7 separate regions of the Homo sapiens genome follow, and regions 1, 2, 4, 5, 6 and 7 are each linked to region 3. The links are contacts of gene promoters, found by promoter capture Hi-C in blood cells and fetal thymus (Javierre and others, 2016). All regions are on one chromosome and are shown on one strand. The core of a region is centred on a gene start or on the middle of the fragment in contact, and the rest is flanking DNA. Distances in the headings are between cores, read along the strand shown. Region 1 holds the start of CLEC11A (C-type lectin domain containing 11A). Region 2 holds the start of KLK8 (kallikrein related peptidase 8). Region 3 holds the start of MYH14 (myosin heavy chain 14). Region 4 holds the start of KLK2 (kallikrein related peptidase 2). Region 5 holds the start of KLK6 (kallikrein related peptidase 6). Region 6 holds the start of KLK11 (kallikrein related peptidase 11). Region 7 holds the start of KLK3 (kallikrein related peptidase 3).

Region 1 (3,913 bases), core at 766-3,265, 520 kb before region 3:
TCTCGAGCGTGCCACCGTTGGGCTGGTCCGGGCTGAGCGGATGCGGCGAGGCGCTGGGCTGGGCGCCGAGCTCGGGGCGGGGTGAGCGATGCCAGGCGAAGAAGGACACGCGCTGGCCGTTTTCGAAGAGGTAGAGGCCCTCGGCGCGCCGATCGTGCACGCCCAGCCACACGGGCCAGTTGTAGGGAGCGAGCGCCGCGCGCAGGTACCGAGTGAGCGCCTCCATCTGCTGGCGGTCTGCCGGCTGCGCCAGGCTCCCGCCCCGCGCCGTGCACCGCGCCTGCGCCGCCGCCTGAGCTTCGAAGTCGCGCGAGAGCAGGAAGCACTTGTGGCCCAGGCGCAGCCCCTTCAGGCAGCCTGTGGGCGGGGCCGGGTAGAGAAGGAGGCGGGGTCATGCATTCAGAGTCTGGAAGGGGGCGAGGACAAAACATCCGGGGGTGGAGGGAGGCGGGGCCAGGAACTCATGGGGAGGGCTGGGAGGAGGCGTGGTCAGAACCGCGGGAGCCAGGAGGTGGAGAGTCTGGTCCGCCAGGGGCGGGGCCAGGCGGTGGGAGCTGGACTGTAGGGGGCGTGGTGCTGCCCCAGTCGGGTCCGCGCGGGTCTGGAGTGCCCACCCGCTCCCTGCATTCAGCCTCCCAGCTCTCTAACCCCGTCCGCTAGCACACAGCAGCTCTCCCGAACTCTCCCGCCCCGGACACCTAGGGTCACCTTCTCAACCAGTCCCATTCCTGGCCCAGATAGTCTCATTTTTTTCCACCCCGCGCGCCGCGGACTCACCCTCCAAGCGGCCGTGCTCGCGCTCGGCGCGACCCTGCGCCTCCTGCAGGGCTTGCACGGCATCGCGGGTGTCGCCTGCCGCGTTCCGCAGCTGCCGCAGCCCCTGGGTCAGCTCGACCACGCGGGTGTCCAACGCGTGCAGACGGACGTGCAGCTGGTGCAGGCCTGCGTCCAGGCCGGCCAGGCGGCCCACTGCGGACAGACAGGGATCATGCTGGAGGGGGAGCCTGGAGATGCAGCGGGGGGCCTGAGGACCTGGAGAACTGGGATCTAGGGCTCCTGAGGGCGGGGTGGCGGTGGGGGGGGCACCCCGGACTCCTGGAAGGTAGGGTCGAGTGGCCCAGGCCTTTAGGAGGCATGGCCGTGGACCTGGGGCTCCTAGGGGTGTGGGGGCTCTGGGCTGGGCAATGGACAACTGAAAGGCCACTTGGCAGTGAACCGACCCTTCATTTTTGCGAAAGTGACCGCGGCGGCCTAGGAGTTTGGGGGTGAGGGCTTCTGGTTACTCACGGATGTAAGTGACGATGTCCTCAGGGGTGGGAGAGGGGCTGGGGCCGGAGGATGGGGTTGGCGTTGCTTCCTCCTCCTCTTCCTCCCCCTGGTCCTCCTCCATCTCCCAGTCCTCTTTTCCCTCAACAGTTCCGGCAGGATTCTCATCCCCCCTCCCAGCAGGCAGTCCTAGGGCTTCCTGCAGATGCTGGGGCAGGGGAGGGGTGGTGAGCCCCAGCCTGCCACCAAGATGCCCCATTCACCCCTTTCCAACTCATAACTCATTCTCTGCTGCCTGAGTCCTGTCTCTGAGCCCATCACCCTCCCACTCCTCTGAGACTATCCCAATCGCTCCTCATTGTCCATTTCCCTAACCTTGCAATACCCCCTCCCAGACCCACAGTTCACCACCCATAGCTCCCTGACACTCCAGAGCTCACCTTCAGCATCAGGGCCTCCCTCTCCCGCTCCTCCTCCTGGGCACCTCCCCAGCCTCCCTCCCACTCCCTCTCTGCTCCCCGAGCCCCATGGCCAAAGCCCAAGAGCTGGGGGACCACCAAAGCCCCCAAAAGCCAGGCTGCCTGCATTAAGCTGGACTCTTGGCACCCAAAGTTCCAGATGTCTGGATGTCTGGGGTGGGAGGGGTGGCCTCTGGGAACTGCCGAGTGCCCCTGCCCTGTGTGCAGGTCACTAGCCCCCAGGTTCCCGATTCTCCCAGCTTCTCTCTTCCTGTTCCTCTCCTCGTCTCTGTCCGGTCCGTTGGTCTCCTCTGCTTCTCTGTGTGTGTCTCTCCCCGCCCCTCTTGGCTCCCCGGAGGCCCTGCCTCTGTGGCCGGAAACCTCCAACGTTCCAAAGCCTAGATCCCGCCTTGGGTCTCCTCGCACACCCTCCTCTTTCCACTTTCCAGAGCTCGCTTCCGCCCTGCTCTTTCCTTCTGCTGTAGCCCAAAGATCAGATAATCAGGAAGAGGATGGAGCTGGCTCTCCAAGGAATCTTGGAAAACACAGGCCCCGGCCTCAGCCCAGGAACCCGCTCAGAACCATCTCGGCAGTGGTGGGATGCTGGGACCGAGCACTGCTCCCTTCTTCCCTGCCTGGCCATTCCTAAGGAGGGGCAGACCTCAGGGTCTCGCTGAGGTTGTTATTACCCTGTGGCCACCATCGCCTGCACACTCAATGGAGGAGACTCCAGGGCCCCTCCTGCCCCCTAGATTGCCCATCCTACCCTCCAAGCCCTTGTCTGGAGATCCAAGTGAGTGTGTGTGGGGGCAGGGTGACACATGTGAAGAGCACGCGTGTGACTGTGTGCATGACCCTGGAAGACGGGGCTCGGGGATTAATTGGCCACTTTACTAGAAGCCTCCTGCAGGCCAGGCTGTGGGCTGGGTGATGCTGGGGACTCCAGCTGCTTGCAGACCAGCAGCCAGATAGCTCCGGGGATGAGGGGGCTGGAGATGGGAGAGGGTGAGGAGTCTGGCGGAGCAGTCAGGGAAGGTTTCTCCAGGAGGTGAAATCGACAGACGCTAGGTTGTGTGCTCAAGGAGCTCTGAGCATTCAGCAAGCCACCTCATTTCAGCCTGGACCACTGCAGTCTCGCCCTCCCCCTCCTTCCTCCTGAGCCCCTCCAATCCCGGCTGCTTGCCGCAGCCAAAGCAATCCTTCCAAACCATAAATCAGATCACATCACTCCCCACTCCCCTGCTCCCCCACCTTCCCATCATAAGCAGGAGGGAAGCCAAGCCCGGGCCTCAGTCCTCAGCGCAGCCTACCATGCTGGGGGCTGGGAAGGAAGAACCCTTTGCACCTCTGCAGCCTCATCACCCCCATTCCCTTCACCCACCCCCAGCCTCCACCTTCCCTGGCCTCTTGGCTCATCCCCAAATACTAAGCTGATTACAACCTCAGAGCATTTGCACTAGCCCTTTCCTCCTTCTAGAAGCCTCTTTCCCCAGCTCCTTCTCATCATCGAGGTCTCAGCTCCAGGAGGTCTTCCCCAACCACCTTATCTATTCCGCAAGTTACTTTATTAAAATGCCCCATTTCATCTTTTTGGTATAATCAAGACTGGCATGATCTTGTTTGTTTATGTCTGTTCCCTGCCAATGAAAGCAGGGATTTTTATGCACTGATGCATCTCCTAGCACAAGGCCTACCTAGCACATAGTAGGTGTTCAATCAACCTGTTGAGTGGGCGAGAGGGTAGCCGTTCCTGGTGGGGTCAAAGGCCTGGAAGCTTCACCTCTTTGGTTTGCTGGCACCCAAGTTCCCAGGGTGGTGGTGGCAGGGTAGGTAGAGGTGGTGAGGGCAGTGGGAGAGAGGCTTGGAGGCAAGGAAGAACAATGCCATGCCATGCCCCTCTATGTCAGGCCCATGAGTCATGCAGGGCTTTTCCCGCCCAGGCCTGGCTGGTGGTGCCAACAAGCATGGGGCACACCAGCCAAGGATCACTGGGCCTGCTCTTCAAAGGAGGAGACCGAGGCTCTGAAACAGCATAGCCTGCTGGAGGTCACCAGTGTGGCGGCAGCTAGCCAAGGTTTCTGGCTCCAAGAGCAGGGCATCTGCCCTCGGCTGCCGGGAGCCCCAGGAGGGGCCTTGGAAATCAGTGCCTCCAGCCTTCCGTTTTCCAAGAAATCCTGGTACATCGAGGG
Region 2 (4,141 bases), core at 177-2,676, 800 kb before region 3:
TCAATGGTTCCCGCCCTGGACCTCCAGCTGCCCTGACTCCCCTCTGGACACTAAGACTCCGCCCCTGAGGCTCCGCCCCCTCACGAGGTCAAGCAAGACACAGTCGCGCCCCCTCGGAACGGAGCAGGGACACGCCCTTCAGAGCCCGTCTCTATGACGTCACCGACAGCCATCACCTCCTTCTTGGAACAGCACAGCCTGTGGCTCCGCCCCAAGGAACCACTTACACAAAATAGCTCCGCCCCTCGGAACTTTGCCCAGTGGGACTTCCCCTCGGGACTCCACCCCTTGTGGCCCCGCCTCCTTCACCAGAGATCTCGCCCCTCGTGATGTCAGGGGCGCAGTAGCTCCGCCCACGTGGAGCTCGGGCGGTGTAGAGCTCAGCCCCTTGTGGCCCCGTCCTGGGCGTGTGCTGGGTTTGAATCCTGGCGGAGACCTGGGGGGAAATTGAGGGAGGGTCTGGATACCTTTAGAGCCAATGCAACGGATGATTTTTCAGTAAACGCGGGAAACCTCACCTTCTTTCTGCCTGAGCTGTGAGATGAGTGGAGAGCAAACGGGTGGGCGGTGAAGGGCAGATGAGGGAACCGGTACCGCCTTGCAACTCCCCCTTAAACCCCTAGTAAGTTTTGCCTAAAGTCTCTGTCCATCAGCCCTATTGCAGCAAGACTCCTGGGTTCTGCTTGGGTTGGTCTTGCCGCCTCCAGGGGAAGGGGAAACCAGGTCACAGTGCCTCCCAAACCTGCCCTCCCAGATCCCGGACCTCTCAGGGGACAGCGGGCGGGGCCTGATCCACCCTCTGGTTTCTGACCCTAGAAGACCTGCCTTTCTTCGGTTCCCGGTTACTGGCAGCAGCCCCCTCCTCCCACAAAAGATCAGGTTCCAAGCTTCTCCTTTTAAAAGTACTTAGAATTCAGCCCCCAGCTCTCTCCTCCCTCACACCCAGGAATCCAGGCCCCTAGCCCCTCCTCCCTCAGACCCAGGAGTCCTGGCCCCTAGCAGCCCCCTCCTCCCTCAGACCCAGGAGTCTGGGCCCCCAGCCCCTCCTCGGTCAGACCTAAATCCCAGGTCCCAGTCCCTCCTCCCTTAGATTTAGGAGTCCAGGCCCCCAGCCTCTCCTCCCTCAGACCCAGGAATCCAGGCCCCCAGCCTCCTCCCCTCTCAGAACTAAAATCTTGGCCCCCAGCCCTTTATGTTTCAGATCGTAGAGTCTCAGCACCGAGTCCCTCCTCTCCCTAGCCTCAGGAGTCTGAGATTCCAGCCCCTCCTCCCTCAAGATTTCACGTTCAATCCCCTCCGCCCCTTCTCACTCACACCCAGTGTTCCAGTTCCCAGAAGCTCCCCAGGCTCTAGTGCAGGAGGAGAAGGAGGAGGAGCAGGAGGTGGAGATTCCCAGTTAAAAGGCTCCAGAATCGTGTACCAGGCAGAGAACTGAAGTACTGGGGCCTCCTCCACTGGGTCCGAATCAGTAGGTGACCCCGCCCCTGGATTCTGGAAGGTGAGGTGCAGAGGTACTCAGATACAGACATCAGGCCCCGGACCCTCCTTCTCCAGATTCCAGGACCCCAGCCTCAGATGCCCTTCTCTGTCGAGATCCAGCAGTCTGGACCCCGGCTTCCTCCTCTCCCTAATTTAGGAGTCCCAGCTCCCAGCTCCCTGTCCCCTCAGACCCAGACATCGAGGACTCCCCCCTCCCTTGGAATGTAGGAATCCAGTCCCCCAGCCTCCTCCTTCCTCCAGAGAAGCCCAGAACAGCCCCAGATACTCTCGGCTGCCTCCCCAGTGCCCAAATCCAGAACTGGGAGCTCAGGCTCCTCCTTCCTGTTTACCGGCCCCGCCCTCTCCATTTCCCAGACCTCACCATGGGACGCCCCCGACCTCGTGCGGCCAAGACGTGGATGTTCCTGCTCTTGCTGGGGGGAGCCTGGGCAGGTGAGGAGGGTTGCGGAGGCCTCCGGAGGGGAGGGATCTGAAGGCAGCAGTGGCGCTGGGGAGTCTGTGGGAATGCCGCGGGGGTTATGTGGGTGCGTGTGCACGGATGTGAAGAGTGCGATACGGTGCAGGAGCCTCTGTGGGCTTTCCTCAGGGTGGACAGAGGCAAGAAACAGGTAGCAGCAGGTAGGAGTAGGTTCCGTGATGCTGTAAATTGTCTGAATAGCTACAGCCTTTGGGGGCTGCTTGCTTGGGGGCATAGATTCACCTGGGAGTACTCGGGGCCTGTAGACTCATGTGGAAGCATGTGGGGGCATTCTTGGGTGTGTGACTCTTGTATGATGACACATGGACTGAAATGAGTGTCCCCGTGTGGCAGCGTGTGGAAGCCTGGACCTCCTCACTAAGTTGTATGCGGAGAACTTGCCGTGTGTCCATTTGAACCCACAGTGGCCTTCCCAGCCCTCGCACTGCCCCAGAGGGTGGCGATCCAACCCTCTCCCTCCTGCTGCAGGACACTCCAGGGCACAGGAGGACAAGGTGCTGGGGGGTCATGAGTGCCAACCCCATTCGCAGCCTTGGCAGGCGGCCTTGTTCCAGGGCCAGCAACTACTCTGTGGCGGTGTCCTTGTAGGTGGCAACTGGGTCCTTACAGCTGCCCACTGTAAAAAACCGTGAGTGGATGATGGGGGCAGAGGTCAGCTGGGGCTTAAGGAAAGAGGGGGCTGGGGTTTCGACTCAGGAAGGAGAGAGCTGAGGACTGGACTCCTGGGTCTGAAGGAGGAGGGGGCTGGGGGCAATACCCCTGCCTGGGTCCCAAACTATCCCCACCATTACAGGAAATACACAGTACGCCTGGGAGACCACAGCCTACAGAATAAAGATGGCCCAGAGCAAGAAATACCTGTGGTTCAGTCCATCCCACACCCCTGCTACAACAGCAGCGATGTGGAGGACCACAACCATGATCTGATGCTTCTTCAACTGCGTGACCAGGCATCCCTGGGGTCCAAAGTGAAGCCCATCAGCCTGGCAGATCATTGCACCCAGCCTGGCCAGAAGTGCACCGTCTCAGGCTGGGGCACTGTCACCAGTCCCCGAGGTAGTGGGCTTGTCCACTAATGGGAGGGAGAGGAGGAGCTGGTTGGCCCAGTGGAACCCAAGCTATTGGCAAAGCTTGGTCCCCCAGAGGGAGACAAAGAAGGGAAAGTGATCATGATGTTGAGATTCACAAGCAGGAGTCATATGAGAAGCCTCGAAGATCTGACTACTAACAAGAGTGGTGAGAGAAAGAACCAACTAGCAGATTGTTAAGCAGGGCCAGAAAAGCCCATCCTGTATGGCGGAGAGCACTACCCTATGGGACCTTTGGTTGTATAGGATTTTATATAATCTTAACACACTTGGGATATTTGGACTTCTCAGAGGCCCAGGAAAACAGGCTCCTAAGCACCTTCTCCCCCACCTCCCTCCTTTTTTTTTTTTTTTTTTTTTTTTTTTTTTTTTTTTTTTTTGCAGGGGGACACAGTTTCACTCAATCGCCCAGGCTGGAGTGCAGTGGCACAATCTCAGCTCACTACAATCTCTGCCTCCTGGGTTTAAGCGATTCTCGAACCTCAGCCTCCCGAGTAGCTGGGATTACAGGCACCCGCCACCACGCGAGCTAATTTTTGTATTTGTTGTAGAGACAGGGTTTCGCCATGTTGACCAGGCTGGTCTCGAACTCCTGACCTCAAGTGATCTGCCCGCCTCGGCCTACCAAAGTGCTGGGATTACAAGCATGAGCCACCGCCCCTGGCCTTTTTCTCCTTCTTGAACCCAGGAAACCTGGGCCCTGGTCACCTCTTCCCTCAGACCCGGGAGTCTAGGCCCTTCTTCTCCCAGGACCCAGCAGTCCTAGCTCCCTCTTGACTCTGGACCCCAAAATCTGGACCTCCAATGAAGCTGTCCCTTTGGGACTCCAGAATCCAGAGAGCCCCTCGCCTTCCTTCACAGTGAAAACATTGGGACTCACCTAAGAGAGTCAAGGAGCTTCTCCAGGAAGTGGCAAAGTCAGCATTCAGGTCCCTGCCTGCCTCACTCCTGCTCTGAATGCTTTGGATGAGACAGTTTGCGGCTGTGGAAACACACGTGCTCGCAAATCAAGTAGATCAGTTCAAACTATGGCTCTGCCCTTTCTCCCTGGGCAAATTCCTTTCCATCTCTGAGC
Region 3 (3,703 bases), core at 329-2,828:
GCTTTCCCTGCTGTGCATTGCGGCCAGTGAAATTAATAAAACGACGTTCAGAAAGTTCCCCAGCCCAGTGCTTCATCATTAATCTCCCTGAGCCTCAGTTTCCCAACTGCGGGAAGGGAACAACAAAATCTATAGACAGTAAGAGTACCAAAGAAGAGGACAATGGTATTCTGTCCTGAGCTTCAGTCTCGGGAGTGAAATAAAGACTACATGGTGATAAGAGTACCTACTATGTGTCGGGTATTTTCTCCTCTTAGAACAGCTCTTTGAGATCATAAAATGATTTAAAAAAAAAAAAAGAGGGAGAGACAGGGTCTCTCTCTGTTGCCCAGCTTGGAGTGCAATGCCACGATCATGGCTCACTGCAGCCTTGACCTCCTGGGCTCAACCGATCCTCCCTGCTCAGCCTCCCGAGTAGCTGGGACAGCAGGGTCACGCCACCACGCCCGGCTAACTCTTTTACTTTTTGTAGAGACGAAGTCTCGCTGTGTTGCCCAAGCTGGTCTCGAACTCCTGGGCTCAAGCGATTCTTTCGCTTCCACCTCCCAAAGTGCTGGGATTACAGGCCTGAGCCACTGCGCCCGGCCTAGAATAACCTCAACAACCAATGACATAGGGGTGATCAGCATGTCCATTTCTCTGATGTGGAAACTGAGGCAGGAAGGGTCAAAGTAAGGCACTCAAGATCACACAGCGTAAGAGGGAGGTCTGGAATTCAAGCCTATACCGTTTTCTGCCATTCTAAAGGAGGGGGTCTGGAAAGAACTTGTAGCAGGTCCCTAAAGACATGAATTTCTGCGTCCCAGTTGGTGATTACTACCAACCTGCTTCCCCATCTATGCCACAGGGACCACCGCTTTCCTTAGGGGACTCCTGTGGGACTGAAAAGGTTAAAGGACCCAGCACACAGTTGGTCTCTGGAGTGTTCTTCTCCACCAGGTCCCCCTGCAGTCACCAATTCGGCCCAGTCTCAGCCTTCCCCTCTCTGTATAATGGGTACAATATAACTCACCTCGAGTCAACACGATAAGGAAAGGAAATTATTTAGTTATAAAAAATAAAAGCGTCCAAGTACATCATAGGTTCTCAAATATGTCCTTCCCTACCCCTCCGCCTCTTCCAGTCACGACCCCTCTCTCTGGCCTCCGATTCTGACACGTGAGAACAGAGACATGTCATGCTGGGGGCGGGGGACTGGAGGCGATGACTCAGGTATTAAAGCGGCCGAGGTTCCAAAGACAGCCTCAGTTTCCCCTTCTGCGGAACAGGCCCGGGGCTGACAACGAGGACCCCGACCGGGCCTCGCACACGGCGGCAACTGGAGTTGGGGGAGTGTAGACGTCCCGCCCCCCCACCTCCCTCGCCGCCGTCCCGCTGCGCGCCCAAGGTGAGTGTCCGCGTCACCTCCCCGCCGTCCCCGGCCGCCTGCCCGGGCTCCCGGGCCCCGATCGCAGCCCCCAGGCTCCAGCTTCCCCTGGCTCAGTCCCGTTCCGCCGCCCCCGGAGGGCTGCCGGCCCCGGGCACTCACCGGCTTCCAGGGCCGTCCCGAGGCTTCGGCCTGGGGAGAAAGAGGGGCGTGTCCGCCAGGACAGCCCCGCCCCCAAGAGAGCAGCAGAGGCCAATCGGCGCCCGCTGCGGCAAGCTACGGCCCCGCCCCTGGGGGACGGGAGCCGCCAATCAAAAAGAGCGGCTGGCGGGCTGGGCCAATCAGAAGTTGTCGAAGGGTGCCAGCCGTGGGAAAAGAACGCGGCCCGGGCGCGGAGCTAGGCGGCGCGGTCGGGGGTGGAAGCCGAGGCCTGATGGGCACGGGGCGCCACCAATAGCGAGGCGCGGGGGGCGGCCGGGGGCGGGAGGCCCAAGGGGCCAGGGTGAATGGGCCGCTTTGTGCGCAAGGCATGAATGGGGGCCTTTGTAAGGGCCGGCGTGGGGGGGCCGACCGAAGGCCGGAATGCCTGGGTCCCCCGGGACCCGGCGGGCAGGAGAGACAGGAGACAGAATTCACTTTTGTCGAACGTAGACCATGTACCAGGCACCCTCCCAGGCTCTCACCCACCGGGGAGGTGTGGGCCGTGATACTATCGGAATAACAATGATCGTTTATCAAGCACTTCGATGTAGACCGGGAGCTGTGCTAAGCGCCTTACCTGCATGATCTCATTTAATCCTTACAACGAAGCCCTTGAAATTGGTGCTATTAAGATCTTCATCTTCTAGATGAGGTAACCCCAAGCTTAGAAAGAGGGTGTTAATTGCAGAAAGTCACAGAGCTGGCCGATGGCAGAGCAAGGACTCAGATCCAACCAGAAGTTGTGCTTTTAACCGCCATGCTATGCCCAAACGTGGTAATGATTCCCCATTTACAATTTACAGATGGGAAAACTGAGGCTCAGGAGAGCCAAAAGACTTCCCAAGGTTGGAAGGGTGCCGTGGCTCACACCTGTAATCCCAACACTTTGGGAGGCCAGGGTGGGAGGATCACTTGAGCCCAGGAGGTCAAGACCAGCCTGGGCAACATAGGCCCCATCTCTATTTAAAAGGAAAATAAAAAGAGCCAAGGGCACAAAGGAATGGCTCCACTGAACCCAAGGAGGCCTGCCAGCTTGGCTCGGCTGCTCAGCAGCTGTGTGGGCTCAGGCCAGTTGCTGGACTTTTTTGAGATTCCATTTATTTCTGCACTCGTAAAATGGGAGTGATGGACTGTCTGCCTTCACCCTTGCTCTCCCTACAGTCTACTCTATTCAGATGGGGCCTTTCCTCTGTTCAGAGCCTTCCATGGCTCCCATTTCACTCAGTAAAAGTCTAAGAACTCACCATGGCCAATGAGGTCCTGCGGGATGTGGCTGGCCCTTTTGCTCTCTCTGATCTCACCCCCAGGCCCTCCCCTTCATACTGCTCCAGCTACACTGGCTCAATTTCTCAAACCAGGAGGCCTGGTGCTGCCCCAAGGCCTTTGCATTCTCTGTTGGGTCCACCAGGAATGCTCTTCCCCAGGTTTTGCATGACAACCTCTCTCCCACATCATCCGTTCTGCTCCAATATCACCTCTTCCAAGAGGCCTTTCCTGGCCATCCTATATAAGACAGTTCCTCTCATCACTCTCTCTCGTTTAACCCCGCTTTGCTTTTTCTCATAGCACTGGGAGTGTTTGCTAATTTATCTGTTTATCATCTGTCTCCTCACTAGAATTTAAGTCCCACGAGGACAAAGATCTTTATTTTGTTCAGTGCCGAATCCTCAGTGCCTGGCACACAGTAGGTGTTTAATAAGTGTTTGTTGAGTAAATGGTAATGAGTGCTTGTATTGAGTGGATTAAGTGAATTAGTGCCTACAAAGCTCTTAGTACAGTCCTGGCACCAGGGAAAAGGCTGAATAAGAAAGTACTGGCCAGGAGCGGTGGCTCACGCCTCTAATTCCAGCACTTTGGGAAGCTGAGGCAGGCAGATCACTTGAAGTCAGGAGTTCGAGAGCAGCCTGGCCAACATGGTGAAACCCCGTCTCTACTAAAAATACAAAAATTATCCAGGCATAGTGGCCCACGCCTGTAATCCCAGCTTTTCGGGAGGCTGAGGCAGGAGAATCACTGGAACCCAGGAGGCGGAGGTTGCAGTGAGCGGAGATAGCACCACTGCACTCCAGCCTGGGTGGCAGAGTGATTCCATCTCAAAAAAAAAAGAAAGAAAAGAAAAAGAAAATACTGATTATC
Region 4 (3,714 bases), core at 851-3,350, 670 kb before region 3:
GCGTGGGCCACCGTGCCCGGCCACCTTCCCCTCCTTTCTTGTTTCCCCTTCTCCTTCCTCCCTCCTCAATTGTGCACCCAGCTACAGCTGAAACCAGCCCTCCCTGTGTCTCCCCAGGGTGGAGGGATGTCCTGCAGAGAGTGCTGTGCAATGACAGGCACCCCCTCACATGCACACACATTGAGCTTAAAGTCCTTCCTTTTTCTGGGTGCTCCCCACCCACCCTCACGGGGTGTGTTCAGTAGTGATGAGGAAGGGCTGAGGCAGAGACCCAGAGAGAAAGACAGGCAAAGAGATGCAGGGTGAGACACACGGTGACAGAGATGGCCACAGAGAGACCCAGAGACAGAGACGGGGGAGACACAGACACAGGGAGACAGAAAAGAGAGAGGGACATAGAGACCAAAACACAGTCATACAGACACAACCAGAGCCAGATACCAAGAGACACAGCGAGATCAGACACAGAGAGAAACCCAGGCAGCCATGGGGAGAGTGGTCCAGCCCCAGCTCTGCCTCCGGGTGCGACCTGGGCCAGGACCTTCCCTCTCTCCTTTAGTCTGAAGCCTCACCTGAGAAGTGACCCTGGGGGAAGCATCCCGCTGTTATTCCTGTGGGACACAGCCATTCCCTCCCCAGATCCCAGGGTCCTACTTACTTCTTTAGGCAATGGGCAGCTGTGAGCACCCACTGGGGGTGCACCAGGACACCCCCACAGTGTGCCCATCCATGACTGTACACAGCCACCTGCCAGGGTTGGGAATGCTTCTCACACTCCCAGCCTCCCACAATCCGAGACTGGATGAGGGGCACGGCACCTGCGGAGGGGGTGCTGGGTCAGGGGGATCAGACCCAAAAGAATTGGATAGGGGAGGGAGCTGAGCTGTGGGTTTGAAGAGACATGGGGGCAGAGGACCAGGACTGGGAGTCCAGGACACAAGCAAGGGGTCCTGGGAGGGCTGGCAATTCTGTAGCTATTCCCTGCGTTAGCGGGTTGGTGGCTGGACCAGGTCGGGAGGCTTCATGCTCTGAGAACGGAGCTGACCCCAGAGATCAGAGTAGGGGACATGGGAAACATCTGAAGCAGGCATCGGGTTGGGGGTTGGGTCATTTGGAGTGATTTGGGGTCTTACACTGGGAGAAGGGACACTGTGGTGGCAGCTGTGGGTTCTAAGAGAATAAGAGGTTCCAGAAACCAAGGATAAGTGCCCAGTGGAGAGGTTTAGTTGCTGGGAGAGGAAGGTTTTGGATGGTTTACCATGTCCAAGGTTAAGCAAACAGTTCTGCCTGAGTTGTTTCTTGCTTTGTTTTGTTTTGTTTTGTTTTTGAGGTTTTGAAAAGGGTGCGGATTTAGGGAATCAGAGAACTGGCCGTTGTGGTTGGGGGTGCTCGTGTTTTTCCCATGGAAAAAGCTAGCCATTGAATGACGGGTCTGGGGCAAAGAGTCAGGGAAGGAGGAGTTCTGAAAGTCCCAGTGCCAGACTCAGGGTGGGAGGCAGCATTTGTTGTCTCAGGCCAGATAGCCTCGGGGGGAAGAAGGAAGTGTCTGGTGGAATCTGGGTTTCCTGGGACAGGGTTGGGGAGCCAGGTGTCAAGGTCCAGGGGACAGGGTTGAATGCTCACAGCTGAATAGGAAAAGTCAGTAGACTGTGGTAGGACTGAGGGGCTCAGGAGGCAGCCCAGTGATAGGGTCCAAGGAACCAGTGGCATGGAGAGAGGTCCTTGAAAGGTTTTGAACCCCATAAAGAGAAACACAGAGATGCCCAGGAACTTGCTCTTTAGTAAAGCAGCTGGGAGCAGGGATTTGGCTGGGCAATGGAGAGAAAGGTCTGAGGTAAGTGGGAGGGAGCGGGGACCTAGTGTGGGCATGAGGACTATTGCAATGTGGAAGAGTCAGGGGCACATTGTCTGGGCTGAACTGTGGGCTGAAGGGACGAGGCTGGGGCACTGGGTGGGAGGAAAAGGGCTTCAGCATAAGAGTCAGAACCCGCCCCCCTTCCTTTATCCCCCCAATCTCACCAGTGCACCCCACAGACAAGGCGATGGAGAGAACCAGGTCCCACATGCTGACACAGGTGTCCACGGCCAGGTGGTGAGTTTGGGGCTGGGGGGCCTCCCTGAGGAGCCCTATAAAGCCTTCATTCTCCAGGACCCCGCCCTTGCCCTGTTGGCACCTAGATGCTGACCAAGGCCCTCCCCATGCTGCTGGAGGCTGGACAACCCCCTCCCACACCCAGAGCTGTGGAAGGGGAGGGAGAGCCAGCACTTGCTGTTCCACACATACTAGATCAGTCTGGAGGCATTCCCACGGTGTGAGGTCAGATTGGGCAGGGCCTATGGATCATGGAGATGTGATCTAGGGAACAAAGCCAGAGAAGGCAGGCTCAGGATGAACAGCAACAGGGGTTGGGATGATCACTGATTCTTTTTTAAAAAAATTCTGAGACAGTCTCACTCTGTTTCCCAGGCTGGAGTGCAGCGGCGTGATCGCAGCTCCCTGTAGCCTTGAACTCCCAGACTCAACCGATTCTCCTGTCTCAGCCTCCAGGATAGCTGAGACCACAAGCATGCACCACCACATCCAGCTAATTTTTAATTTTTTTGTAGAGAGAGGGTCTGGCTATGTTGCCTAGGCTGGTCTCCAACTCCTGGGCTCAAGCCATCCTCCCACTTCGGTCTCCCAAAGTGATGAGATTACAGGCGTGAGCCACCACGGCCAGCCCCAATCATTGATTTTCAATACAAAGTCTCATGTGCCTAAGTCCCAAGTACTTCCTTTGCACCCCAAACCTAATATGCCCTGAAATATCAGAATGATCGGATTGTGAGACTTCCTGGTCCCTATACCCGTCTGAGCCCAGAAGCTGGACCTCCAACTTACCATGTTCCTGAAATAGAAGCGTTGGCATTCAGTACTCTCTGATTCTTGCACTTCCACACTCAGAAAATGGTTCCCCACATACATTTCTCCCTCATCATAAAACCTTGTGATACCACATATTGTCCAATCCAGAAATATGACTCTCCCAGACCAAGTTCCCTATTATTTCAAAATCCAATGTCCACTAAACAATATGGGGTTCCGGTGGCTCCTCACTCCTCATTCTCCATGCCTGTACAACGTACAGGTACAGCGGGGATTCCTGTTGACCTGCCCTCCTAGGTCAGAATTGTCCTCATGCAAAATCCAATGCCTCCTTCTCACTGAAATGTCTAGCTATCAGGAGCCAGGTTTATACACTCCAAGATTAAGCTGCAAGCCAGGCACGGTGAGTGGCTCATGCCAGCAATCCCAGTGCTTTGGGAGTCCAAGGCTGAAGAATCACTTGAAGTCAGAAGTTCAAGATCAGCCAGGGCAACAAAGTGAGACCCTTTCTCTACAAAAAAAAAAAAAAAATTTAATTAGCCAGGTGTGGTGGCAAGCACCTGTAGCCCCATCTACTCAGGAGGCTGAAGCAGGAGGATCCCTTAAGTCCAGGAGGTCAAGGGTTCAGTGAGCTATGATCACACCACTGCGCTCCAGCCTGAGTGACAGAGCAAAAGACCCAGACTGTGTCTCAAAAAAAAAAAAAAAAAAAAAAAGAATTAGGGTGGCATTGAGAAATCTCATTTTGGTGTCTCAGAAAAGAATCAAGAATAAGAGTCCTGGTGTTAACTCTTATTATAAGAGTCCACTGTTAACTCTATAAGATTTCTTTGATTTTGAAAAAAAAA
Region 5 (4,147 bases), core at 1,642-4,141, 770 kb before region 3:
CTTGATGTGTTCTAGAAAGCTGGAGCCACACGGAGACGTAGACATAGCTGTGTCATGCAGTGTGAGGGCCACTCACCACTCAGGACTCCTTTTAAAAAAATTTTTGACAGGGTCTGGCTCTGTCACACTGAAGTGCAGTGGCGTGATTATGGCTTACTGCAACCTGGGCCTCCAGGCTCAAGCAACTATCCCACCTCAGCCTTCTGCATAGCTGGGACCACAGATGTGTGCCACCACACCTAGGTAATTTTTTTCTTTTCTTTTTTTTGTTTTTTTTTTTAGAGATAGGGTCTCACTATATTGTCCAGGCTGGTCTCGAACTCCTAGGCTCAAGTGATCTTCCCACCTCTGCCTCCCAAAGTGCTTGGATTACAGGCATGAGCCACCTTGCCCAGCCATGTCAGGCTGGGGTGCAGTGGTATAGTCACAGCTCACTGCAGGCTCGACCTCCCAGGCTCAGCAATTCTCCCGCCTCAGCCTCCGGAGTAGCTGGGACTACAAGTGTGCACCACCACATCTGGCTAATTTTTTTACTTTTTGCAGAGATGGTTTCTCACTATGTTGCCCAGGCTGGTCATGAACTTCCGGACTCAAGCTATCTACCCACCTTGGCCTCTCAAAGTGCTGGGATTACAGACATGAGCCACCATGCCTGGCCTTAAATTTATTTTTTAATTGACAAGTAAAAATTGTATATATTTCTGGTGTATAACATCATGTTTGATATATGTATGTATATGTTGTGGAATGGCTAAACCAAGCTATTTAACATATGCATTATTTTACACCCTTATTTTTTGTGGTAAGGACACTTAAAAAATCTTCTGACTTAAAAAAAAAAGTATGGTGATTGGAAAATGTAAATGTGCATGCGTGCTTGGCATCACATTTCATTGGCCAGGACTTCCCTGGATGCTAAAGGTCCTCAAATGCCAGGCTGGGGGGCTGGGACTTGGTCCCAAGGGAGATGGGGACCCAGGGCACGTCTGTGAGAGGAGGGGCAAGGTCAGCACAAGGCACAGGAAGGTCTCTCTGGGGCAAGGGATACAGAGAACAGAGGGATCCTGGTCCAGGTGGGAGAGGTGCAGCTCTGAGTTGGGGTTGAGGGTGTGGGTACAGAGAGGAAGGGACCCCCCAGAGAGAGGAGGCAGAGGGATAGGGCCTGGTCACTGGGTTGTGCAACATCAGACTTGCTGTCTGTGAAGATAGCACGTCCTGAGAAGAAGGTGCTGAGGTCAGTGGGGACCAAATGTGAGAGGGAGCACCCGGAGAGTATACTGAATACCGAAGTAGTCTTCATCCCTGGAGTGATGGGGGGTGCACAATGCAAGATGACAATTAGATTCAATGCAAGACAAAGAAAAGGGTTGGCTGGGAACAGTGGCTCATGCCTATGGTCCCAGCTCCTGGGAAGACTGAGGCGGGAGGGTCGCTTGAGCCCAGGAGGGTTGAGGCTGCCACGAGCAAGGATCGTGCCACTGCACTCCAGCCTAGGCGACAGAACAAGACCTTGTCTCAAAAGAAAAAAGAACTTTTTTTTTTAAGTTACCTGTAGTGCCCAGCCCAAGCAGGTGCTGAGCCAGACTTCATTCCTATCATTGTCCTTATTACGCAGTGACTTCCCCCTCCTCATTTCTCTCCACTCTGCCACGCACACACCCTCACCCTCCAGCCCATACCAACCACCCCAACCACTGCCTGTGGTTTCCCATGTGCACCCAGGCCAGGCATTTTCACGGCCTTTCCTCCTGACCTACGCCTGGCTCAGCTTTCTAGGCCCAAGTTCAAAGACACCTCCCTAAATCTTCCCAGATCCCTCTGCTACTGCCCAGCACCACCATCTTATCACAGCCCCACGTCGTTCCCAAGTGCTCTCCGATTTCTGCTTAACTCCATGCCTCTCGCTGTGTGTCCGCATCTCATCAATAAGTCCTCAAGTCCTCTTCCATCCTGCTAGCTTCCTCATCGCTCGGGAATCATCCCCGCTACTTCCTGGGGAAACTGACTCCCTTCTGGGCACACACAGTGCTACCCCCGGGGAAATCTAAGAAGAGACCCAGGAGAAGATAAGCACGGAGAGTCAGAGAATCAAGGGGAAAGAAAGGGAGAGAGGCCGGGCACAGTGGCTCACACCTGTAATCCAGCACTTTGGGAGGCCAAGGTGGGTGGATCACCTGAGGTCAGGAGTTTGAGACCAGCCTGGCCAACATGGTGAAACCTCTTCCCTACTAAAAATACAAAAAACATTTAGCCGGGCGTGGTGGTGGGTGCCTGTAATCCCAGCTACTTGGGAAGCTGAGGCAGGAGAACTGCTTGAACTCAGGAGGCGGAGGTTGCAGTGAACTGAGATCACACCACTGCACTCCAGCCTGAGTGACAGAGCAAGACTCCGTCAAAAAAAAAGAAAGAAAGAAAGAAAAGAAGGAAGGAAAGAAAGAAGGAAGGAAGGAAGGGAGGAAGGGAGAGAGGAAGGGAGAGAGGAAGGGAGAGAGAGAAAAAAAGAGGGAGAGAGACACAAATACAGAGACTGAGATGGGAGAGAGAGAGAGATGGAAGCTCCCTCCCCTCCATGGCCAGGGAGACAGATGGAGCAAGAGACCTCAGGGGTGGGCAGACTTGGAGGAGAAGGACCAGGAGGATGTGGAGTGCCGAAATCTCCAGTCAGGGCCAGGTGGGCAGTCAGAGACTGCAAAGGAGGACTGTCAGACAGGGACAAAAGGAAGCCATTGATGTAACCGCCCTCCCGCCTGCCCGCCGGAAGAGAGGTTGAGGCCGGAGCTGCTGGGAGCATGGCACTGGGGTGCTGGGGGCGGACAAAGCCCGATTGTTCCTGGGCCCTTTCCCCATCGCGCCTGGGCCTGCTCCCCAGCCCGGGGCAGGGGCGGGGGCCAGTGTGGTGACACACGCTGTAGCTGTCTCCCCGGCTGGCTGGCTCGCTCTCTCCTGGGGACACAGAGGTCGGCAGGCAGCACACAGAGGGACCTACGGGCAGGTGTGTGAGTCACCCCAACCGCACTGAACCTGGGCAGGCTGCTTCCCAGTGCCGGAGGGCTCTAGAGCCCGGAGTGAGGGCCTGCAGGTCCCTGGGTGGCACAGAGAGTGCTGGGGGTGCAGGGAGGCCTGGGGCACCATCTGCTTGCCCCAGAGGCCGGAATTTGTCTTCAGACACTTTCTTTCTCCAAAACCCGGAGGTCTAAGGACTGAGCCGACTAGAACTTCCTCTGCCTCAGATTCAGGCCCCAGCCCCTCCTCCCTCAGACCCAGGAGTTTAGGTCCTAGCCCCTCCTCCCTCAGACCCAGGAGTCCAAGTTCCCACCTCCTCCCTCAGACTCAGGAGTCCAGGCCCCCAGCCCCTCCTCCCTCAGACCCAGGAGTCCAAGTTCTCACCTCCTCCCTCAGACCCAGGAGTCCAGGCCCCAAGCCCCTCCTCCCTCAGACGCAAGGGTCCAGGCCCCCAGCCCCTCCTCCCTCAGACTCAGGAGTCCAGGCCCCCAAGCCCCTCCTCCCTCAGACCCAGGAGTCCAGGCCCTCACTGCACTCAGGGACCAGTGCTCCCTTCCCTGGAGGCCTGGTCAGGGGTCACCAAGAGCAGAGCGTGGGGGCGGGAGGAATGTGTGTGGGAGGCCTGGGTAAGGAGGAAAAGGGTGTAGCCAGTCTCCTGGCTCAGGGACCTGAGAGACAGGGGTTAAAAGGACGTTCCAGAAGCATCTGGGGACAGAACCAGCCTCTTCCAGGGAGGCCTGGGAGCTGGGGGTGTGTGTCTGGCAGTCCCTGCAGCCCTGGGCTCTGCGGCCCCTGCGTCCTCCGCTTGGCTCTGCCACTGCATCTGAGTGTCTTCTCTCCTCACGGCTCCCCGCATTTCTAACTCTTTCTGCCTCCTCGTCTCAAAGCTGTTCCTTCCCCCGACTCAAGAATCCCCGGAGCCCGGAGGCCTGCAGCAGGTGAGATCACAGACATCACAGAACCTGCCGGGTGGGCGGGGTGGGTGGCCATTGCGCACAGAGCCAGGCTCCGAGGAAAACTCCCATACAGAGGAAGAACGCTAGGGCCCCCTAGGGTAACCCTCTCCTGTCGACAGGAAGGCAAATCAGTGCCCAAGAAAGTAGAAAGATCTAATCAGAATCTCACCATGGGTTACTGGACCAGT
Region 6 (4,258 bases), core at 868-3,367, 820 kb before region 3:
CAGAGCGAGACTCCATCTCAAAAACAAACAAACAAAAAACCCAGTGCTCAAATAGGATGAGGGTCTTCCCTGAGTAGTTACTCAGAAATGGAGTAGAAAAAGTTACTTTTAATAATATAGGCCGGGTGCAGTGGCCCACGCCTGTAATCCCAGCACTTTGGGAGGCCGAGGTGGGAGGATGGCTTGAGCTCAGATTTCGAGATCAGCCTGGCAACACAGTGAAATCTTGTCACTACAAAAACACAAAAAATTAGCTGGGTGTGGTGGTGCGTGCCTGTAGTCCCAGCTACTTGGGAAGCTGAGGTGGGAGGATCACCCGAGCCGGGGAGGTGGAGGCTGCAAAGAGCCGAGATCATGCCACTGCACTCCAGCCTGGGCAATAAAGTGAGACCTTGTCTCAAAAACAAAAACCCAGCAATATAAATAAGACACATGTTTCTTCATCTGGCATAATAGAAATAGTGCCCAGAGCTTATAAGCTTTTCAAGAGTCCACAAAAGACCCGAAAAAGAAAAAGAAAATTGTTAGCTCCAAAATACCAGATGAAAGCTGCAAAGTCAACATTTATGACCATTTAATCCAATGTCCATAAAACGTAGCATTCTTTCCACTAGCCAACTGCAGTTTACTTTCTTGTAATGAAGCATACATTGTATCTTTAATGTGGGACGTGGCTTTGTTCTAATAAGACGAAGGGTGGAGTGCAGGCTTGGAAAGCAGGAGAGCTCAGCCTACGTCTTTAATCCTCCTGCCCACCCCTTGGATTCTGTCTCCACTGGGACTCAAGAGGTGAGGAGAGACCATCTCCCCAAATGCACTGAAGGGAAACTGGAGGAGGGAGGGAGTGAGGGGTGATCATACCAGCGGAGGCACATTTGCTGAGCCCCCCCGCAGTCTGCTCTTTCCAAGTGGACCCTCCTGGAAGCCTGATCCCAACCTCCCCTGCAAGCAGGTCTGTCACCCCCATCTCTCAGATGAAGAAACTGAGCCTTGCAGGGGTGGAGTCCCTTGTCCCCACGTCATAAGGGTAGTCATAGTAGTAGGAAGAGGAAGCACCTAGGTTTGAGGCCAGGGCTGGCTGCTGTCAGAACCTAGGCCCTCCCCTGCCTTGCTCCACACCTGGTCAGGGGAGAGAGGGGAGGAAAGCCAAGGGAAGGGACCTAACTGAAAACAAACAAGCTGGGAGAAGCAGGAATCTGCGCTCGGGTTCCGCAGATGCAGAGGTTGAGGTGGCTGCGGGACTGGAAGTCATCGGGCAGAGGTCTCACAGCAGCCAGTAAGTGAACAGCTGGACTCGGGCTGCCTGGGCGGCAGGGAGAAGCGGGCAGGGGAAGGGTCAGCAGAGGAGCGAGGCCCCAGAGGAGCCCTGGGGTGGAGCACAGCCAAGGGCTCTGTTCCCTTTCCTGGACTCGGCTTCCACAGGCCCTGACCTGCCTCCCCCACCCTCCGGTCCTGCCCCTGTGCCTGGCAGCAGCCCCACCTGTGTGACATCCCAGCACACCCCCCCTCTCCTTGCAAAGGAGAAGGGAGCGGCCTAGGGGAGGCCAGGGGCCCACCTGGGCTGGGGCTGTGGAGAGGGAGTGGCTGGGACGGGAGGAAAAAGAGAGACGGAGATTAGATGGAAGAAGAGGGATTTCAAGACAAATTGCCAGAGATGCAGTCAGAGAGACTGACTGAGAGACACAAAGATAGAAGGAATTAGAGAAAGGGCCACACAGAGCCAGACAGAGAGAGAAGAGTGGAGATGGAGACAGGGACGAGGACAGAGAAAGGCAGACAGACACATAGGGACAGAAAGAGAAAAATCACACAAAGTCAGAATTACTGAATGACAGGGAATGACACATAGAACGAGACACAGATTCAGAGACTCAGGGCAGGGAAAGGAAGGCTGCAGACAGACAGACAGACAGAGGGAGGCTGAGACACAGGGAGAAGAGGGGCTTGGAGAGGTGGCACAGGCAGGCAGCCAGTGCCTCAGAGGCCTCCGGGGAGGGCCCTCACACACACCCCGCCCCGGGGCATTAAGGCAGGGCTTGGAGGCCAGTCATCCTGGGCCCGCCCAGGGCCGCCCCCCTGCCAGCCCGCCTGCCTGGTGCCTGGCACCTGGCGCTCCAACCCAGCCTACCTGCTGTAGCTGCCGCCACTGCCGTCTCCGCCGCCACTGGGCCCCCAGAGCCCCAGCCCCAGAGCCTGTGAGTCCAGGAGGAAAGGGAAGCTGCCCCTCCCCGTCCAGGTGTCAGCCCTCCCCAAGGACACCTGTCCCACTCGGGCACCCATTTCTCCCTCTGCTCTGTCCTTCTCTGCTTGGGTGGGGGTTCCTGGCCTCTCTCTACACCTCTCACCTCCGATGGCTGTCCGCAGCCTCAGTTACCTCTAATCTCCATGGCTTCAGCTGCTGAGCTGGCCCTCTGCTCCCACCCCCGCTGGCCAGGGCAGCGGAGGGCACTGGCCCTCCCCTCGACCAGCCCCGCCCAGCTTTGCTTGGCTGTCCTTCAAAAGGGCAGGGGTTTGGCGGACAGGGCTTCAGCAAGCCGGGTGATGGGGGTCCCAGACATTGTCTGGGGCTGAGCCCCCTACTCCCCTCCAGCAGACCTCAAAGGCTCCATATCGCTCTGCTGCGAAGACAATGAAAAAGGGGTGGCTACGGAACGGTGTCTGGTTCCCCTTGTCCTTCCACCCCAAGCTGCTGGGGCCTGGCCAGCTCTCAAGGCAAGAAGGAAAACATCCTCTGACATGTGCCGGGGAGGTCCCATGGCTGACTTGAACAGGGCCGAACCATGGCTTGACAGCTCAAAGCCCCTCCCAACGACTTCCACATGGTTCTTGGTATCTCGGAAGCTTCTAGCTGTGACCAGGCCCTCTCCAAGGCCACCCTAGACACCTAAGATATATTTTAAGTGTTTGGAGATCTGAGTGCTGTGAGAAACAGGGGATTTCCCCAACCTTGTTTCTCCCAAGTGGGGAGCGGGAGCAGGTGAGGGAGAGAGGAGAGGGCATGAGCCAGCCCCCCCCTCCCGATTTCCCCGTAAAGTGATGCGGCCCCATGTCCCTCCTTGTTCCCAGAGGAACCTGGGGCCCGCTCCTCCCCCCTCCAGGCCATGAGGATTCTGCAGTTAATCCTGCTTGCTCTGGCAACAGGTACGCAGGGGATGGGGGCAGGGCAGGATCCTCCCTCTTGAATCTCTGGGATCCCCTAACCCTCTGTGTCTGGACAGTGACAGGGCTGATTCCAAATTACAGAACAACCCATAAGGCACCTGAACTGGAGCAGTGGTCATGAGGGCCTGGATGCCCTTCTAGATAATCCCTTTAAATGCCAAAGGAGGAGAGGTCAAGGGGGTCGTAAAGGGTCCCGTGGAGGGGCTGAGGAAGCTGGAGTTGGGGGAGCAGTCACTCAAAGCGCCCAGGACAGGGGCTACTGACCAACCAGTATGGAAGTATTTCCTTTTTTTTTTTTCCCAGAGACAAAGTCTTGCTCTATTGTCCAGGCTGGAGTGCCGTGGTGCCAACACGGCTCACTGCAGTCTTGACTTCCCGGGCTTAAGTGATCCTTAAGCCATCTCAGCTTCCCCGGTAGCTGGGACCACAGGCACCTGCCACCAAGCCAGGCTAATTGTTTAATTGTTTGTAGAGATGGGGGAGGAGGTCTCACTATGTTTGCCTAGGCTGATCTAGAACTCCTGGGCTCAAGTAATCCTCCCACCTTAGCCTCTCAAAGTGCTGGGATTACAGGCATGAGCCACTGCATTTGACCTTATGGAAGTATTTTCATCCTTTAATACCCGACCCCAGCATCCAGGGCAACCCAGAGGGACACCAGACCAGGGCCCAGACCACCCACTCTCTTTCTCTCCTCCCCACCCCCATTTCTGGGAGTCCTCCTGGTCTACCACCTCTCCTTCCTGAGCCCCTTCTTTTGCTCTCACCCCCTCCAGGGCTTGTAGGGGGAGAGACCAGGATCATCAAGGGGTTCGAGTGCAAGCCTCACTCCCAGCCCTGGCAGGCAGCCCTGTTCGAGAAGACGCGGCTACTCTGTGGGGCGACGCTCATCGCCCCCAGATGGCTCCTGACAGCAGCCCACTGCCTCAAGCCGTGGGTGCGGGGGCTGGGGCGGTGCCGGGGTGGGGGGCTGGGAATGGGGAGATGGATGGAGAGAAGCTCAGGGATAGGGGTGCTGGTAAGGGGATTAGAGATGGGGATGGGTAGTGTCAGCAAGGTTGATGGGCTCGAGTTGGTATTGAAGGTGGGGGGATGA
Region 7 (4,278 bases), core at 254-2,753, 650 kb before region 3:
CCCCAGGCCCCTACTCACTTCCTGATGCAGTGGGCAGCTGTGAGGACCCACTGGGGGTGCACCAGAACACCGCCGCAGACTGCCCTGCCACGAGAGGCCACAAGCACCTGCCAGGGTTGGGAATGCTTCTCGCACTCCCAGCCTCCCACAATCCGAGACAGGATGAGGGGTGCAGCACCTGCAGAGGGGGTGCTAGATCAGGGGAATCAGGGTTGACAGGAGGAACTGGGGGACTCGGATAGGAGATGGATTTAGGATGTGGGTTTGAAAAGACACGGGGGCAGAGAACCAAGGCTGGGAGTCCTGGGACATGGGCAGGGGGAGCTGGGAAAGGCTGGGAATTCTGTCAATCTTCCCTAGGTTTGCAGGTTGGTGGCTGGTGCTGGTGGAGAGGCTTCATGCTCTGGGAGCAGAGTTGAACCCAGGGATCAGGGTAGGAGACACAAGACAGCGCCCAGACCATATCTTGAGTCTGGGGATTGGGTCCTTTGTGGTGATTTGGGGTCTTGGACTGGGAGAAGGGAAACTTGGTACAAGTTGTGGATTCTGAGGGGATAAGCGGTGCTAGGAACCAGGGATAAGTGCCTTATGGCGAGGTTCAGTTGCTGGAAGAGGAAGGTTTTGGAAAGTTTAGGAAGTCCCAGGTTGAGAAAACAGTTCTGGTCTGAGTTGGTTTTGTTTTATTTGTTTTTCTTTTTGTTTTTAGGTTTTGAAAAGGATGCAGATTTGGGGAATCAGAGAGCTGGCAGTTGTGGCTGGGGATGCTCATGTTTTTCCTAAGGAAAATGTGGGCCACTGAATGAAGAGTCTGGGGCTAAGAGTCAGGGAATGAGGAGTTCTCAGAGTCCCATTGCCAGACTGAGGGACCCATTTGTTGTCTCAGGCCAGATAGCCTGGCTAGGAAGAAGGAGGTGTCTGGTTGGCATCTGGGTATCCTAGGGCAAGATTGGGAGGCCAAGCATCAAGGTCTCTGGGATAGGGTTGGGCACTCACAGCTGAATGGGAAAAGTCAGTAGACTGTGATAGGATTGAGGGGCTCAGGAGGTGGACCAGTGATACGGTCCAAGGAACCAATGGCATTGAGAGAGGTCCTTGGAGGTTTTGAGCCCCACAAAGAGAAACACGGAGATGCCCAGGAACTTCCCCTTTAGTAAAGCAGCTGGGAGCAGGGAGCTGGCTGGGCAATGGGGAGAAAGTTCTGGGGTAAGTGGGAGGGAGCGGGGACCTGGTGTGGGAGTGAGGACTGTTGCAATATGGAGGGGCTGGGGGTATGGGCTTGGAGTGGGGCTGGGAGAGACAGAAAAGAGCCCAGCTCCCTGTCTGGGCTGGGGTGCTGGGTTGGGGGGGAAAGAGCCTCAGCTTGACAGTCAGGGCTGGCTCCCTCTCCTGCATCCCCCCAACCATGGCCCCTCTCACCAATCCACGTCACGGACAGGGTGAGGAAGACAACCGGGACCCACATGGTGACACAGCTCTCCGGGTGCAGGTGGTAAGCTTGGGGCTGGGGAGCCTCCCCCAGGAGCCCTATAAAACCTTCATTCCCCAGGACTCCGCCCCTGCCCTGCTGGCACCCAGAGGCTGACCAAGGCCCTCCCCATGCTGCTGGAGGCTGGACAACCCCCTCCCACACCCAGAGCTGTGGAAGGGGAGGGAGAGCTAGCACTTGCTGTTCTGCAATTACTAGATCACCCTGGATGCACCAGGCCCTGTAGCTCATGGAGACTTCATCTAGGGGACAAAGGCAGAGGAGACACGCCCAGGATGAAACAGAAACAGGGGGTGGGTACGATCCCCGATTCTTCATACAAAGCCTCACGTGCCTAGATCCTTTGCACTCCAAGACCCAGTGTGCCCTAAGACACCAGCACTCAGGAGATTGTGAGACTCCCTGATCCCTGCACCACTCTGAGACCAGAAACTAGAACTTTTATTCCTCATGCTCCTGAAATAGATGTCTTGGCATTTAGTACATTCTTTTCCTTGCACTCCCAACCCAGAATCCAGCTCCACAGATACATTGCTACTGTCATCATAAAAAGATCTTGTGGTCCACAGATCCTCTAGCCCAGAAATATGAGTCTCCCAAAGTTCCCTAGCATTTCAAAATCCAACGTGCAGCAAACAATGTGGAATTCCAATAACCCCCCACTCCTTGTTCTCCAGACCTGTGCACTCTATCTGTGCAACAGAGATGCCTGCTGACCTGCCCTCCCAGGTCAGAATCATCCTCATGCAAAATCCAATGCCCCTTCTCCAACAAAATATTTAGCCTTTAGGAGCCAGGTTTATGTACCTCAAGATTAAACGACAGGTCAGTCATGGTGGCTCACGCCTGTAATCCCAACACTTTCCGAGGCCAAGGTAGGAGGATCACTTGAAGCCAGGAGTTCAAGGCCAACCAGAGAAACAAAGCAAGATCCATCTCTACAAAAAAAAAAAAAAAATTTTTTTTTTTTGAGACAGAGTCTCACTCTGTCACCCAGGCTGGAGTGCAGTGGCGCAATCTCGGCTCATTGCAACCTCTGCCTTCTGGGTTCAAGTGATTCTCCTGCCTCAGCCTCCTCAGTAGCTGGGATTACAGGTGCCGTGTGCCACCACGCCCGGCTAATTTTTCTATTTTTTTTTTTTTTAGTAGAGACAGAGTTTCACCATGTTGGTCAGGCTGGTCTCAAACTCCTGACCTCGTGATCCACCCATCTCAGCCTCCCATGGTGTTGGGATTACAGGCGTGAGCCACTGTGCCCGGCCCCCCAAAAAATTTAAAAATTATCTGGATATGGTGGTGGACTACTGTAGTCTTAGCTATTGGGAGACCGAAGCAGGAGAATCTCTTAAGGCCAGGAGTTCAAGGCTACAGTGAGCTGTGATCACGCCATTGAACTCCAGCCTGGGAAATAGAATGAGACTGAAACCTCGATTTAAAAAAAAAAAAAAAAAGATTAAGGTGGCATGCAAAATCACAATTTGTAGTCTCAGAAGAGAATCGGGAACTCTTAAGAGCCCTGGTACCTCCACTGTTAACTCCGTAAGATTTCATCAATTTCCAAAAAGTTGGTTATTTCAGCTGTTCAATAAAACCAGAGTAGCTCACTTGATCCAGCCCGAGCTGTGTCTCAAGAATTTGACAAAAGTGGCTGGGCGCGGTGGCTGACGCCTGTAATCCCAGCACTTTGGGAGGCTGAGGCAGGTGGATCACCAGGTCAGGAGTTCGAGGCCAGCCTGGCAAACATTGGTGAAACCCCATCTCTACTAAAAATACAAAAATTAGCTGGGCATGGTGCTGCATGCCTGTAATCCCAGCAACTCAGGAGGCTGAGGCAGGAGAATCACTTGAACCTGGGAGGCAGAGGTTGCAGTGAGCCGAGACTGCGCCACTGCACTCCAGCCTGGGCAACAGAGTGAGACTCTGTCTCAAAAAAAAAAAAAAAAAAAAAAAGAATTTGATAAAATCTTCCCCTGTTTCTAGTTGAGTGATCAGGTAAACTCCAAGCACAGTGAGGGAGACAGAGGTGGATATAGATAATCACAATTTAAGACCATCTTAGAGCTGGAGTGGAAGGATATACTTAGCCAGTGGCCTGACCTCCCCTACACGTGAATTAAGGCTTCCCCGGATTCATCCTGGAAAGGAAGTTTGTCTCCACTCCAGTGAGAACCTCATGGATCCGGTGTCCCCAAGCATATCCTCAACTCATCCTCAACCAAAACCTGACCCAACCCAATTTAATACAAACCAATCCAACTGCATTATACACAGCCCCGACCCCATCAACCCAACGCAACTTAACCTAACAAGCCAACCCTTATGTCTTCCCCCATTGTTTGATTCCCCATCAAACAAAACTCATGGCCACTGTCAAATCTGACAGCTACTTCCACGTCTTCTACCTCCAAAATCAAACCCAGCTTCATCCCCAGTTCAATCCCCAAGGATGTCTGAGCCAACATCAAAACAAATCTATTTCCATCCCAAAGCCATGCCATCCCAAACCACCTCCACAGTGTCAATCCCAAACTCATCCGAAGCACAATTTTACCCCATCTCTAACCCAACTCCAATCTGATCCTCCATCCTAACTGGTCTTCATACTCCACTCTCAATCCTATACCCAGCACTTTATCTAACCAAAGAAAACCAAATACAACCACATCCCCGTTCTCAAGCCTGTCCATTGCCTCCTCCCCACCCATGATGATGCTCCCTTGGCTGTGACCTCACAGGAGTCCGTGCCTCCACCCCCTACTCCTGTACACACCATGGTGTTCATCAGGGCCCTG

Evidence for each region. Contacts are between HindIII fragments. The CHiCAGO score rates a contact against its expected background, and 5 or more counts as called.
Region 1: the fragment with the promoter of CLEC11A here is called in contact with the fragment with the promoter of MYH14 in region 3 in 7 of 17 cell types (total CD8 T cells, total B cells, naive B cells and 4 more); the score reaches 8.0 in total CD8 T cells.
Region 2: the fragment with the promoter of KLK8 here is called in contact with the fragment with the promoter of MYH14 in region 3 in 1 of 17 cell types (naive CD4 T cells); the score reaches 5.7 in naive CD4 T cells.
Region 4: a contact is called between the fragment with the promoter of KLK2 here and the fragment with the promoter of MYH14 in region 3, in 10 of 17 cell types (naive CD8 T cells, total CD4 T cells, non-activated CD4 T cells and 7 more). The highest score is 12.7, in naive CD8 T cells.
Region 5: the fragment with the promoter of KLK6 here is called in contact with the fragment with the promoter of MYH14 in region 3 in 8 of 17 cell types (naive CD8 T cells, naive B cells, total CD4 T cells and 5 more); the score reaches 7.0 in naive CD8 T cells.
Region 6: a contact is called between the fragment with the promoter of KLK11 here and the fragment with the promoter of MYH14 in region 3, in 10 of 17 cell types (total B cells, naive CD8 T cells, total CD8 T cells and 7 more). The highest score is 11.2, in total B cells.
Region 7: a contact is called between the fragment with the promoter of KLK3 here and the fragment with the promoter of MYH14 in region 3, in 3 of 17 cell types (naive B cells, naive CD4 T cells and total B cells). The highest score is 6.2, in naive B cells.

Annotation. Positions count from the first base shown.
Region 1 is chr19:50,721,466-50,725,378 of GRCh38, reverse strand. It overlaps CLEC11A (C-type lectin domain containing 11A), which reads right to left and starts at 2,015. Exons shown (of 4, transcript NM_002975.3): 1 at 1,707-2,015; 2 at 1,288-1,474; 3 at 778-969; 4 at 1-357. The coding sequence starts at 1,853. RefSeq lists silencers at 447-506, 547-666. The HindIII fragment of the contact is 4,317 bases long and covers 1-3,500 here.
Region 2 is chr19:50,998,889-51,003,029 of GRCh38, reverse strand. It overlaps KLK8 (kallikrein related peptidase 8), which reads left to right and starts at 1,426. Exons shown (of 6, transcript NM_007196.4): 1 at 1,426-1,498; 2 at 1,855-1,932; 3 at 2,447-2,606; 4 at 2,772-3,034. The coding sequence starts at 1,863. It overlaps KLK9 (kallikrein related peptidase 9), which reads left to right. Exons shown (of 5, transcript NM_012315.2): 5 at 1-522. The HindIII fragment of the contact is 2,221 bases long and covers 890-3,110 here.
Region 3 is chr19:50,201,497-50,205,199 of GRCh38, reverse strand. MYH14 (myosin heavy chain 14) reads right to left here and starts at 1,578. Exons shown (of 43, transcript NM_001145809.2): 1 at 1,529-1,578. LOC124904746 (a long non-coding RNA gene) reads left to right here and starts at 1,224. Exons shown (of 3, transcript XR_007067298.1): 1 at 1,224-1,387. The HindIII fragment of the contact is 8,559 bases long and covers 1-2,232 here.
Region 4 is chr19:50,871,825-50,875,538 of GRCh38, reverse strand. KLK2 (kallikrein related peptidase 2) reads right to left here and starts at 2,100. Exons shown (of 5, transcript NM_005551.5): 1 at 2,020-2,100; 2 at 659-818. The coding sequence starts at 2,065. RefSeq lists a cis regulatory region at 2,262-2,276, an enhancer at 2,262-2,276 and promoters at 2,075-2,428, 2,075-2,700, 2,075-3,714. The HindIII fragment of the contact is 10,018 bases long and covers 1-3,714 here.
Region 5 is chr19:50,968,335-50,972,481 of GRCh38, reverse strand. It overlaps KLK6 (kallikrein related peptidase 6), which reads left to right and starts at 2,891. Exons shown (of 7, transcript NM_002774.4): 1 at 2,891-2,992; 2 at 3,891-3,941. LOC105372442 (a long non-coding RNA gene) reads right to left here. Exons shown (of 7, transcript XR_007067308.1): 4 at 4,129-4,147. The HindIII fragment of the contact is 4,765 bases long and covers 3-4,147 here.
Region 6 is chr19:51,024,475-51,028,732 of GRCh38, reverse strand. It overlaps KLK11 (kallikrein related peptidase 11), which reads left to right and starts at 2,117. Exons shown (of 6, transcript NM_001136032.3): 1 at 2,117-2,195; 2 at 3,067-3,141; 3 at 3,939-4,095. The coding sequence starts at 3,102. RefSeq lists enhancers at 806-1,362, 1,922-2,479, 2,480-3,038. The HindIII fragment of the contact is 2,362 bases long and covers 482-2,843 here.
Region 7 is chr19:50,852,140-50,856,417 of GRCh38, reverse strand. KLK3 (kallikrein related peptidase 3) reads right to left here and starts at 1,503. Exons shown (of 5, transcript NM_001648.2): 1 at 1,417-1,503; 2 at 19-178. The coding sequence starts at 1,462. RefSeq lists cis regulatory regions at 1,529-1,592, 1,537-1,661, enhancers at 1,655-1,677, 1,870-1,904 and promoters at 1,492-1,827, 1,492-2,043, 1,466-2,125, 1,492-4,278. The HindIII fragment of the contact is 5,758 bases long and covers 1,497-4,278 here.